Regions from separate parts of the Homo sapiens genome. Here regions 1 and 2 are each linked to region 3. Evidence: promoter capture Hi-C in 16 types of primary human blood cells and fetal thymus (Javierre and others, 2016). All regions are on one chromosome and are shown on one strand. Each heading gives the region's core, a stretch centred on a gene start or on the middle of the fragment in contact. The rest is flanking DNA. Distances are from core to core; before and after follow the strand shown. Region 1 overlaps MYO1D (myosin ID). Region 2 overlaps MYO1D (myosin ID). Region 3 holds the start of CDK5R1 (cyclin dependent kinase 5 regulatory subunit 1).

Region 1 (3,337 bases), core at 654-3,153, 290 kb after region 3:
GATTGCTTGAGCCTGGGGGGTTGAGGCTGCAGTGAGCCATGTTCATGCTACTGCACTCCAGCCTGGATGACAGAGTGAGACTCTGTCTCAAAAAACACAAAACCAAACCAGACACAACCTCTCTGGTGGTCCCAAGAAGAAAATTCTAATTGGAATCCTCTAGAAATTGGGCCTATTTTAAGTTTTTACTGACCAAATACAGTTCGCTTCATAATTAGGATGTAAGATCACAAAATACATATATGTTACTATAAAGCAATGAACAAATAGAAACTAGAAGAAAATGAGATATCAAATTAATTAAAATTAAAATGTATAGAAGATGGTGATGTATAAAAAGGCTAGAACTGATTAGTCTTAGATTGACTTTCGGTTAAACCTTACCCAGAAGCTGGCACACACTCATACCTGTGCCCCCACCCATTCACACGCATAGCTAAATCTATCTACAAAGTCCACAACTTTTTCCAACTTGACAGTGTAAGTGCTAAGAAGAGAAGACAAAAGGAGAATACCTTATCATAAAAAGCTAATGAAGAAGGGAGAATAGGATTTAAAGCTATTTTGAGTCAATAAAATAAATTCTATAAATATAATTTGTTTAAACATTCAGCACTTAAAACATTACCCTCAGAAATTAAGCATATTTTACCTTTTCTAGTAAGTAGTTATTGATATGCCCACCAATAGGGTCACCCTTGAAGTCAAAGTTGATATCCATGTATTTTCCAAACCTGCTTGAGTTGTCATTACGGTTGGTTTTGGCATTTCCAAAAGCTTCCAAAACACAGTTGGACTTAAGCAACATATTCTTCACTCTTTAACACAGATAAATGAAAGTCATTATAAAAACTTATAGAGACTAGAATTTTTTAAAAACTGGATTTTGCTAAACCACATACAAATATTTATACAAAGATGCTAACTCCAGCACTGTTTGCAATATCAAAAAAAAAACAAACAAATTAATGTCCACCAATAGGGATAAAAATAAATTTTTGTTTCCCAATATAATGAAATACTATACAGGTGCTAAAAAGAATGAGGTACATCAATATGTACTCACATGGAAATGTCCAGCATATATTAATGAATATAAAATCAAGTTGTCAAATAACATGCATTGCAGGATCCTTGTGTGTGTATGTGTATGTTCACGTGTGTGTGTGTGTGCATACACATGTATCAGCAAATGCTTAAAAATCTGGAGGGATCAGCACACCTTACTATGGTTATCTAGACAGGAGACTGATGGAATGGGCAAGGTAGGATTTCAGGGAACTTTTACATCTTCAACTTAATTCTGTAATTTTTGTTTTTCATTTTATAAATGTACATATTTTATCTACATAAAGAAAATTTTTAAAAAGATGTGTTCTGAAAAGGGAAAGAATAGGTGATACAGAAAATGATACAATTTTTAAGGCACTTGCTTATAAAACCTGGAATTGTGACATTTTATTGTACTTAGTTATACATCATAAATTTAATCTTCACTAGTTCAGAAATTGCTCATTATTTTCTTTGAAGCTGTATGGAATTTCTCCTTTGTACCAGCCATTTAATGCATTCTTTATTCGACGAATGCTAACTTTCTATACAGCAGTCCCTCCCAATGGATACATTTTAAACTTCATGCTATATCCTTGTTTTCATTCCACTGATAAAATTCTTCTTATACAGGCATACCTGCAGAAATAACTTTGGCCTCTGAAATAACTTGATGTAGAAGATCTACTGTTACTCCCGCTAATACTGGAGAGTTCAACCTTATCGCCTCATAAATGAAAGCATATTTTAAAAATATGTGTGTGGGGGGAAACTGCTTGTGATAAGATATGTTTGTGAAAGACTAGTAAATTTATATATGCCTTACTCTACTATTGTAGGTGTGAAATTAATTTATTTCTCATCTAGTTGCTCTCCTGAGCTCCTAAGGAAATTAAGAAAATTTACACATATCCCTGTCCTTGTCAAACTAGATTGTAAAGTCAGAGTAAGAAGGAGGGATATGTTACAATTAAGAAAAATGCCTCTCCTGGCCCAGCAATGCAGCCCAATATGATGAAAAGAAGAAAGGCTACGCAGGGTAGTGAAGTGTAAGTTCTCTTCTTTTACATCAACCCAATATCCTTTCTTCCTATTTATAAAACTGAAGATTGTTATGTGTAGATGAGGTGGGACTCTTTACTAAATTAGTACTGAGCTTTGAAGTAACCAATTAGGAAAACAGTTTCTCTCTTCAAAAAGGCTGCACCACATAAGAAAGTGAGTCTTGTTGCTTTATAGCTATCATCCATTCATCCCTTAAGTATTTGTTAAGCAAATACTATGTGCCAGCTGCTCCCCTAAATGCTGGGCCCCAGACAGTAGAGATCAGCTTTATTACTCATCTTCCCATGAGCAATAGCACAGTATGGCATGAAATCCTTTTAGAAAATGAATCCTGTTCGGCCGGGCGCGGTGGCACATGCCTGTAATCCTAGCACTTTGGGAGACCGAGGCGGACGGGTCACGAGGTCAGGAGATCGAGACCACAGTGAAACCCCGTCTCTACTAAAAACACAAAAAAATTAGCCGGGCGCAGTGGCCGGTGCCTGTAGTCCCAGCTACTCGGGAAGCTGAGGCAGGAGAATGGCATGAACCCGGGAGGCGGAGCTTGCAGTGAGCTGAGATCGCGCCACTGCACTCCAGCCTGGGCCACAGAGCGAGACTCCATCTCAAAAAAAGAAAAAAAGAAAATGAATCTTGTTCAGAAATTCCACTGTCAGTGGATTCTGAATGTTGTAATGATGATGATGGGAAGGCATGGGTCTGCCTTCCAGAGTCCCACTTCTCTCAGAACACAGTTTTTTAAAAACCCTGATGTGGTGCAAAGAGCAAGGAACCTGTGAGAGTTTGAACAATAAAACCTACCAGTGTAAATTATAACAGCTCTGCTGACCACATTTAAGTCAACAGTAATAAACCAGGATGGGAACACTTTCAACTGTTTCAGAGTAATGATTCTTTTGGTCTCATAATTAGGTAAAGCTTACCATAGTATTATTTTTCTATTAAAAACAAATCTAGAAATGGATACAGTGAAATAAATAAAAGTACAGAGACAATATGCACTTAAGAGAATCAAAGTAGCTTAATCATCAAAAAATGCTCAGCCCATAGGTTTAGACCCCCAAAATGCTCAACCCCTAGAGTTTAGGTCTAGCCAAGTCCATAGAGAAAACAGAGTGCTAAGAATTCCTCCCCATTATTAGAGTGCTCTTACCTTTCAACCTCTGCTCTCTGACTGGGGTTGGTGATGGCCGCAATATACTGCATAATGTACTTACTGGCT
Region 2 (3,163 bases), core at 412-2,911, 270 kb after region 3:
GATGCTCCCATTTGTATCAGGAGTTCAGGTAAAACTACTTTGGTGTCAAATGTGTGAATAACATTAAAGAGGTCTTACGCTAAAAAGAGTACACATTCTAACAGAGGTTTATTTTTAAATTTCTTTGTTAACTTTCTATCATGAAATACACCGTCTGAGATTAGTACAGCCCAAGGCAAAGATAATAAGGTAGACACCATTTCTCCCATTACAAACTCATTTTAATCCTGCCTCCAGATCCCACACCCAACCCTACTCCTTCATACCAATCTGCCTGCCATTAACTGTAAGGTCCACCTTCCACAAAGGGCCAACAAATAACCTTAAAGTATTATCTGATATACTACTTCATAATAAAGTTAAGGTACTACACAAAACTTGCAATTTTATAAAAGTAGGGTACAAGTTAAATGTTTAGTTCTAGAAATTTTGTGCAATATGTTCATAACGATGGCTGCAGTTGCCACAAAGTGCCTCGTTTACCTTTAAATACTGTTAATGTGTCACGCATGCAGATGGAAGGGGTGGAACTGTGCACTAAAGTGGGGGCTTTAACTGTAGTGTTTGGCAGAGTTGCCTTCTACCTGCCAGTTCAAAAGTTCTGTTTTCATGCAGAATATATATACTAAAAAATTTCAGTCTTTTAAACAGCCTTACTCTGATTCAGCCTCTTCAGATACTCTTGTGCTGTGCAGTAGTGGCTCTATGTGTAAATGCCATGCACTGAGGGTACACAAAAATATCAACATTATGTGTACAGGATAATGCCTCATCCCAATCAGATGTCCATTTGTCATTGTGTTTGTTAACAACCCTTTATCTCTTAGTGTTAAATAAACTCCACTTAAAACGGAAAAAAAAAAAAAAGAACTTGCATTTTTAGTTACATGACCCTGAATGACTAAAATCCAAAAGAGCATTTCTTTTGGTTTCCCCAAAGTTAAAAAGCTTCAATAGAATTTTGAACAATTTGAAAAAATTCAGTAGAATTTTTACATTTTTCTAGGCATAATATAAAGAATTTAATTCTGAGAAATAAATATCTATAAAAGATAAGAAAAAGCTTTTCCTTTACTTCCACAAGGTGAATGAAGTTATAAATAACTTCTGGCTTTTCAGCAACTATACATGTACAAGGTTTGTCCAACAATCCTCTGCCACACCTGTTTATTCTGACAGCCTGCAATGTACCTATCACTACACACAGAAGGCACACAAAGAAAGGCCAACTCAGGCAAGCTGCACATCTCAAAGAGGGGCAGCTTATGATCACACAGTTTAATCTTGCTATGTCCCATCTTACGCAGGAGTTACCTAAACTGATTGCTGTCTCCATTACCTTCTATAAGGTCTATATACTCATAATAGACCATTCAAGTGACTCATGTATTCCCATTTCATGCTTTAAAATCCAAGGTTTTATGCCAGTTATTTGTACATGGCTTTTAGCTCCATTTCTAGTCTTGCATGTTCTCTTCTGTATCTTATGGACTGAAACCTGTAAACTGGGTAGTTTTTACTTTGTTTTTTATACTTTTCTGATCTGTCTAAACTAAAGTTTCTCAAATAGGGGAATAGGGGGAATTTTGCTCACCAGGGGACATTTGGCAATATCAGGAGACATTTCTAGTCAAAATGGGGTAGGGGTGCTACTGTCATTTGGTGGGTAGAGGCCAGGGGTGCTGCTAAACATCCTACAATGCATAGAACAGCCTCCACAACAAAGAACTATCTGGCACAAAATCTCAGTAGTACTGAGGTGAAGCAGTGTAGGTCTAAATATTTACTTTCATTATGGGCATTTATTACATTTCTAATTAGGGAGAAAAGTTATTTCCATCTTTGGAAAAAAAATCCTAAAAATACTCAAAAAGCAGGAGCTCTATATTAATAGTTGACATCTTAGACTTCGGGACTGTGAAATTAAAGACGAAGTCTTTTGTCCCAGGGACTAAAGAATTACCTTCCCTAAAATCCCAATTATATTATTAAAAGCTATTGGTCTCTGCTAGTAACTTTCAGTTTGTAAGTTTAATACTGCTTCAAACATTGCTTAAACCAGTAGTTTTCAAACTAAGTTCTTCCAGCAACTTGGCATTCCCGTAAGGTTTCCTAAGGGATACCAGGAGCCAGAAGACTTGTGATGGGGTAGCTTAGGGACATGGGGCTCTGGCCTTTCATACCCACTCCAGATAAAACAGCTTTGTGCTTGAGTATCAAGTTCTCAATAGTTAAAATGATTTGCAAACTACAGCATCGAAAGCTTTTAAAAGTGAATGTACCAGATAACCAGACATTATGAACCTCCTGGTGGAAGTTCACACACAGTCTATGAAATGGGCTGTGGAAAAAAACTGACTCTGAATCCAGTCAAGACTCTAGATCTAACAACCAATATACAGGACATACAAGAAACAGAGAAACATATTAAATGGCACCTGAGGAATGCAATTAGCAAAATCCAGACTGTGGGGAACTCCATAACAAATGACTCATTCTCTTCAACACAAGATTGCAAAGAGAGATCATTCAAGGAAAAAAAGAAACATGGAGAAAATCTATAGATATGCAAGAGACCTATCAATCAATCATAATGTAAGAAACTTATTTGGATCCAAATTTAACCTGCAAAACAACAACCAGAAGACAATTAAGGAAATATGAAACATGTATACTGACTGGATATTTTATGATATTAAGGAATTTTTGTTAATGTTTTAGGTATGATAATGGCATTGTGATTATGGTTTTTGTAAAACTCTCTTAGAGAAATACATGGAAATATTTACTGAATAGATACCCAATTGAATAGATGAAATAATGTGATATCTGAAATTTGCTTCAAAATAATCTGGGAGTAGGTGGGTATAGTACAGATGGCATAAGACTGGCAATCAACTGGTACGTGTTAAAGCCAGGTGATGGGTATATAGGGTTTACTGTACTATAGTCTGTCTTCTTAATGTGTGTTTAAAATTTTCCATAATAAAAAATCTTTTAAAAAGAATCACTATGTTTAGAAGTTTGGGGTTTTACCCAGAATAGAGATTCTAATTGTGGGGGGATCTGCCATGTAGTAAGTAACTGTTACCTTGGAGTTAGCCTTCTGCTCCCTCTAGGACAAATAGTTCTTGGTTTATTTAGCGAAAATTTTTTGCATTTT
Region 3 (3,585 bases), core at 186-2,685:
CCCCCCAAGGTTCCTAAAGCCTGGAATTCCTATTGACAGAAATCTGAGTGGCACATAAACAAAACCCAGCACTTTCTGCCTTGATTGCACCATTTTGAATGATGCCAGATTCCCTTTCTGTTCCCCCTAGGACAGTTGACAGGGCTGGTGAAAGCCTAGTCGGCTGGAGTGGTCAGGTAACTGGGTGGCATCCTCTCCTCTGGAGAGCCACTCCCTCATCTCTAGGTCCAGAGATAATCTGGATTAAGACAGGGCTTAAGTTTCCTGTTTCCCAGGTTTGTGGTCAGTTTTGACTCGATCTCCAGAAACAAGGTAAAATAGTAAATGAACAACAGCCTTTGTGAAGGATCTGGATTCACATCTGACAGGAACAGCTTTCAGAAACAGAATTTTACTCAATTTCGCTAGCATCAAGTTCTCAAATTATACATACTTAGAATTGAAAACGTTTAAGAGGGTCAGAAAGCTGGCCGGAGGGGCAGTTGCTTCAGCTTTAATATGACAAATAAGAGGGCGAGTGGGAACTTAGAGGTCATATTTGTGACGGGCTCAGGCTTGGCTACGGGCCACGCTTCTCTGGCTTGGATCTCTGAGGCCCACTTCGGCCGCGGTCATCTACCCATGATGAGGGAACGGAGGCCCCGGAGGGGTGGCCAGAACCGATTGGACTGTCCACTCGAGGTGCGCGTGGCACTCGGGAGGCCTCAGTAAAGGCGTCGCCTCTCCCCGCCCAGGGCCTTCTTCCCCGCGCTCCCTGGCTGCTTTCCACAGGGACGGGGATGTCAGGTGGAAGGAGGGAGCTCCGGACCCTGGCCTCGGCGGAGGGCTCCTCACCAGGCCAGGGCGGCAGCCTCAGAGAGGGCGGGCCGCGCGCTGCCAGGGCAGGGACTCGGCCGAGAGTGCCCCCGCGGCCGGCAGCTGCGGGCGCCGCGGCGGGAACAAAGGCAGCACGTGTCTGGGCGGGACGCGGGCGGGGTCGGCCCTCGGCTCCGCCCTGCTCGGCGCCCGCCCCGCGTCGGCAGAGTTGGGTTGCGCGGGCGCCGAGGACTCTCCGGCGGCCGGGCTGCTGTTGGGCGGCGGCGCGGAGCGGGCGGCGAGCTGTGCGGGAGGGGCGGCCCCGAGGGGCGGGGCGGGCCGACGCCGCGTGTCCCGCCGCAGCCGCGGAGTCCGGCTCCTAGATGGGGCCCGGCGCGTAGAGGTGCCTCCCGCTCGTTGCCGCGTCCTACCCGCACCGTGCGCGGCTCGAGCTGAGGACACCAACGGCCGCGACTCCCCGGCGAGACCAGGCCGGAGCGTGGACGGCGCGCGCGCCCCGCGAGGGAGGGCGCTGAGGCGCGCGCCGGAAGCGGGAGCGGGAGCGGGAGCGCGGCGGCGGCGGCGAAGGTGCGGGCGGCCGAGCGGGGGGCGGGGCTGCGGTGCCTGCAGAACCTTGGACAGAAGCTCCCTAGCTGCCGCCGCCGCCGCCGCCGCCGTCGCCGCCGCCGAGCGCGAGCCCAGCCGATCCCCGCCGAGCGCCCCCGAGCGCCGCCGAGCGCCGGGACCGCGGCGGCGGGGCCGCGGCGCGCATTGCGGAGGGCGCGGAGCGCAGGAGCTGCCGCCTGCCGGGTAAGCCTGCGCTGGGCGGCCGTCCTTGGCCCTGGGGAGCGGAGACCGGGGTCGCGCCCGTGCGGGGTGTCCAGGCGGGGGTCCTCGGCCGCCTCCGTCGGCGACCGGGCCCCTCCCGGCTGCGCCTGGGGACCGCAGCGGCGGCGGCGGGCGGGGGTGCTGCAGTGGAGGCGGCGAGGCTGCGTCGCGGGGGCGCGGGTAGGGCCCGGGACTGGGGCGGCGGGGTGCGCCGAGGCGCGGGGCGGAGGGGCGCAGGGGCGCAGGGGCGCGGCGCGGAGCCCAGCCTGGCGCTAAGAACCATCTTGTTTTCCAGGCAGATCCAAGGGGGCAGCACGCTTCCCGGGAGCGCCCCCGCCTCCTCTCCGGGGCCGCCGCAGGCTCGGTGAGCGGTTTTATCCCTCCGGCCGGCAGGCTGGGCGCGCAGGGGCGCGAGCCCCCGCCCGGCGCGCAGCAGCACCATGGGCACGGTGCTGTCCCTGTCTCCCAGCTACCGGAAGGCCACGCTGTTTGAGGATGGCGCGGCCACCGTGGGCCACTATACGGCCGTACAGAACAGCAAGAACGCCAAGGACAAGAACCTGAAGCGCCACTCCATCATCTCCGTGCTGCCTTGGAAGAGAATCGTGGCCGTGTCGGCCAAGAAGAAGAACTCCAAGAAGGTGCAGCCCAACAGCAGCTACCAGAACAACATCACGCACCTCAACAATGAGAACCTGAAGAAGTCGCTGTCGTGCGCCAACCTGTCCACATTCGCCCAGCCCCCACCGGCCCAGCCGCCTGCACCCCCGGCCAGCCAGCTCTCGGGTTCCCAGACCGGGGGCTCCTCCTCAGTCAAGAAAGCCCCTCACCCTGCCGTCACCTCCGCAGGGACGCCCAAACGGGTCATCGTCCAGGCGTCCACCAGTGAGCTGCTTCGCTGCCTGGGTGAGTTTCTCTGCCGCCGGTGCTACCGCCTGAAGCACCTGTCCCCCACGGACCCCGTGCTCTGGCTGCGCAGCGTGGACCGCTCGCTGCTTCTGCAGGGCTGGCAGGACCAGGGCTTCATCACGCCGGCCAACGTGGTCTTCCTCTACATGCTCTGCAGGGATGTTATCTCCTCCGAGGTGGGCTCGGATCACGAGCTCCAGGCCGTCCTGCTGACATGCCTGTACCTCTCCTACTCCTACATGGGCAACGAGATCTCCTACCCGCTCAAGCCCTTCCTGGTGGAGAGCTGCAAGGAGGCCTTTTGGGACCGTTGCCTCTCTGTCATCAACCTCATGAGCTCAAAGATGCTGCAGATAAATGCCGACCCACACTACTTCACACAGGTCTTCTCCGACCTGAAGAACGAGAGCGGCCAGGAGGACAAGAAGCGGCTCCTCCTAGGCCTGGATCGGTGAGCACTGTAGCCTGCGTCATGGCTCAAGGATTCAATGCATTTTTAAGAATTTATTATTAAATCAGTTTTGTGTACAGTATGTGTCTAGCAAAGCCACCAAGGGCCTCACCTTTCCCACAGTCTCTCCCTGGGGTTTTTTTCATCCCTGCCAAGAACTCTGGGCACTTTTGAACTCACGAGCCTTGCGCAAAACCCAGAAGATGTATTCAGAGCCACCCAGGCCACTGACCTCCCACTTTGGGGAACTCAAAGGACTGACCTGCCCCTGCCGCCTGTGCCCTTGCTGGGTCCAGGGTAGGCAAGGCTGCCGGCTGCACCCTGTATGGAGCTAGAGAGGGGCCTCTGGCTGCCTGGCCCAGGGAGGAATTGGGGTTTCTGGTTGGAGGCCCTTTTCTGGCTCCTGTGTGGAGTTATTCACTCTCCCAGAGGCTCCTGGAGCCAGCCACCCTAACTGAGCTGCCAGTGGGGTCGTGAGGCAAGATCCCCGCCACCCGGGGACATCTTCAATCTAGGCGAGGCGAAGCTGAGCGGGTCTAGTGGAAAGATTGTGTCTGGTCGTTTGACCACACACCGCCCTGATTTGCTGTTTTCTTTTTTTA

The links. The method cuts DNA at HindIII sites, captures the fragments that hold promoters and counts their contacts. A CHiCAGO score of 5 or more calls a contact.
Region 1: a fragment that was not itself captured here is called in contact with the fragment with the promoter of CDK5R1 in region 3 in 14 of 17 cell types (naive CD8 T cells, naive CD4 T cells, megakaryocytes and 11 more); the score reaches 16.7 in naive CD8 T cells.
Region 2: a fragment that was not itself captured here is called in contact with the fragment with the promoter of CDK5R1 in region 3 in 16 of 17 cell types (M0 macrophages, megakaryocytes, total CD8 T cells and 13 more); the score reaches 40.2 in M0 macrophages.

What each region holds. Positions count from the first base shown.
Region 1 is chr17:32,775,212-32,778,548 of GRCh38, forward strand. It overlaps MYO1D (myosin ID), which reads right to left. Exons shown (of 22, transcript NM_015194.3): 3 at 3,269-3,337; 4 at 653-818. Among named protein-coding and RNA genes, the nearest start is that of MYO1D-DT, 100 kb to the right of the region's middle. The HindIII fragment of the contact is 2,256 bases long and covers 776-3,031 here.
Region 2 is chr17:32,755,724-32,758,886 of GRCh38, forward strand. The region is part of intron 10 of MYO1D (myosin ID); the gene reads right to left. Among named protein-coding and RNA genes, the nearest start is that of MYO1D-DT, 120 kb to the right of the region's middle. The HindIII fragment of the contact is 1,200 bases long and covers 1,062-2,261 here.
Region 3 is chr17:32,485,558-32,489,142 of GRCh38, forward strand. CDK5R1 (cyclin dependent kinase 5 regulatory subunit 1) reads left to right here and starts at 1,436. Exons shown (of 2, transcript NM_003885.3): 1 at 1,436-1,605; 2 at 1,919-3,585. The coding sequence starts at 2,064. The coding sequence ends at 2,987. RefSeq lists enhancers at 222-723, 1,963-2,522 and silencers at 796-1,325, 1,436-1,695, 1,786-2,075. The HindIII fragment of the contact is 10,728 bases long and covers 1-3,585 here.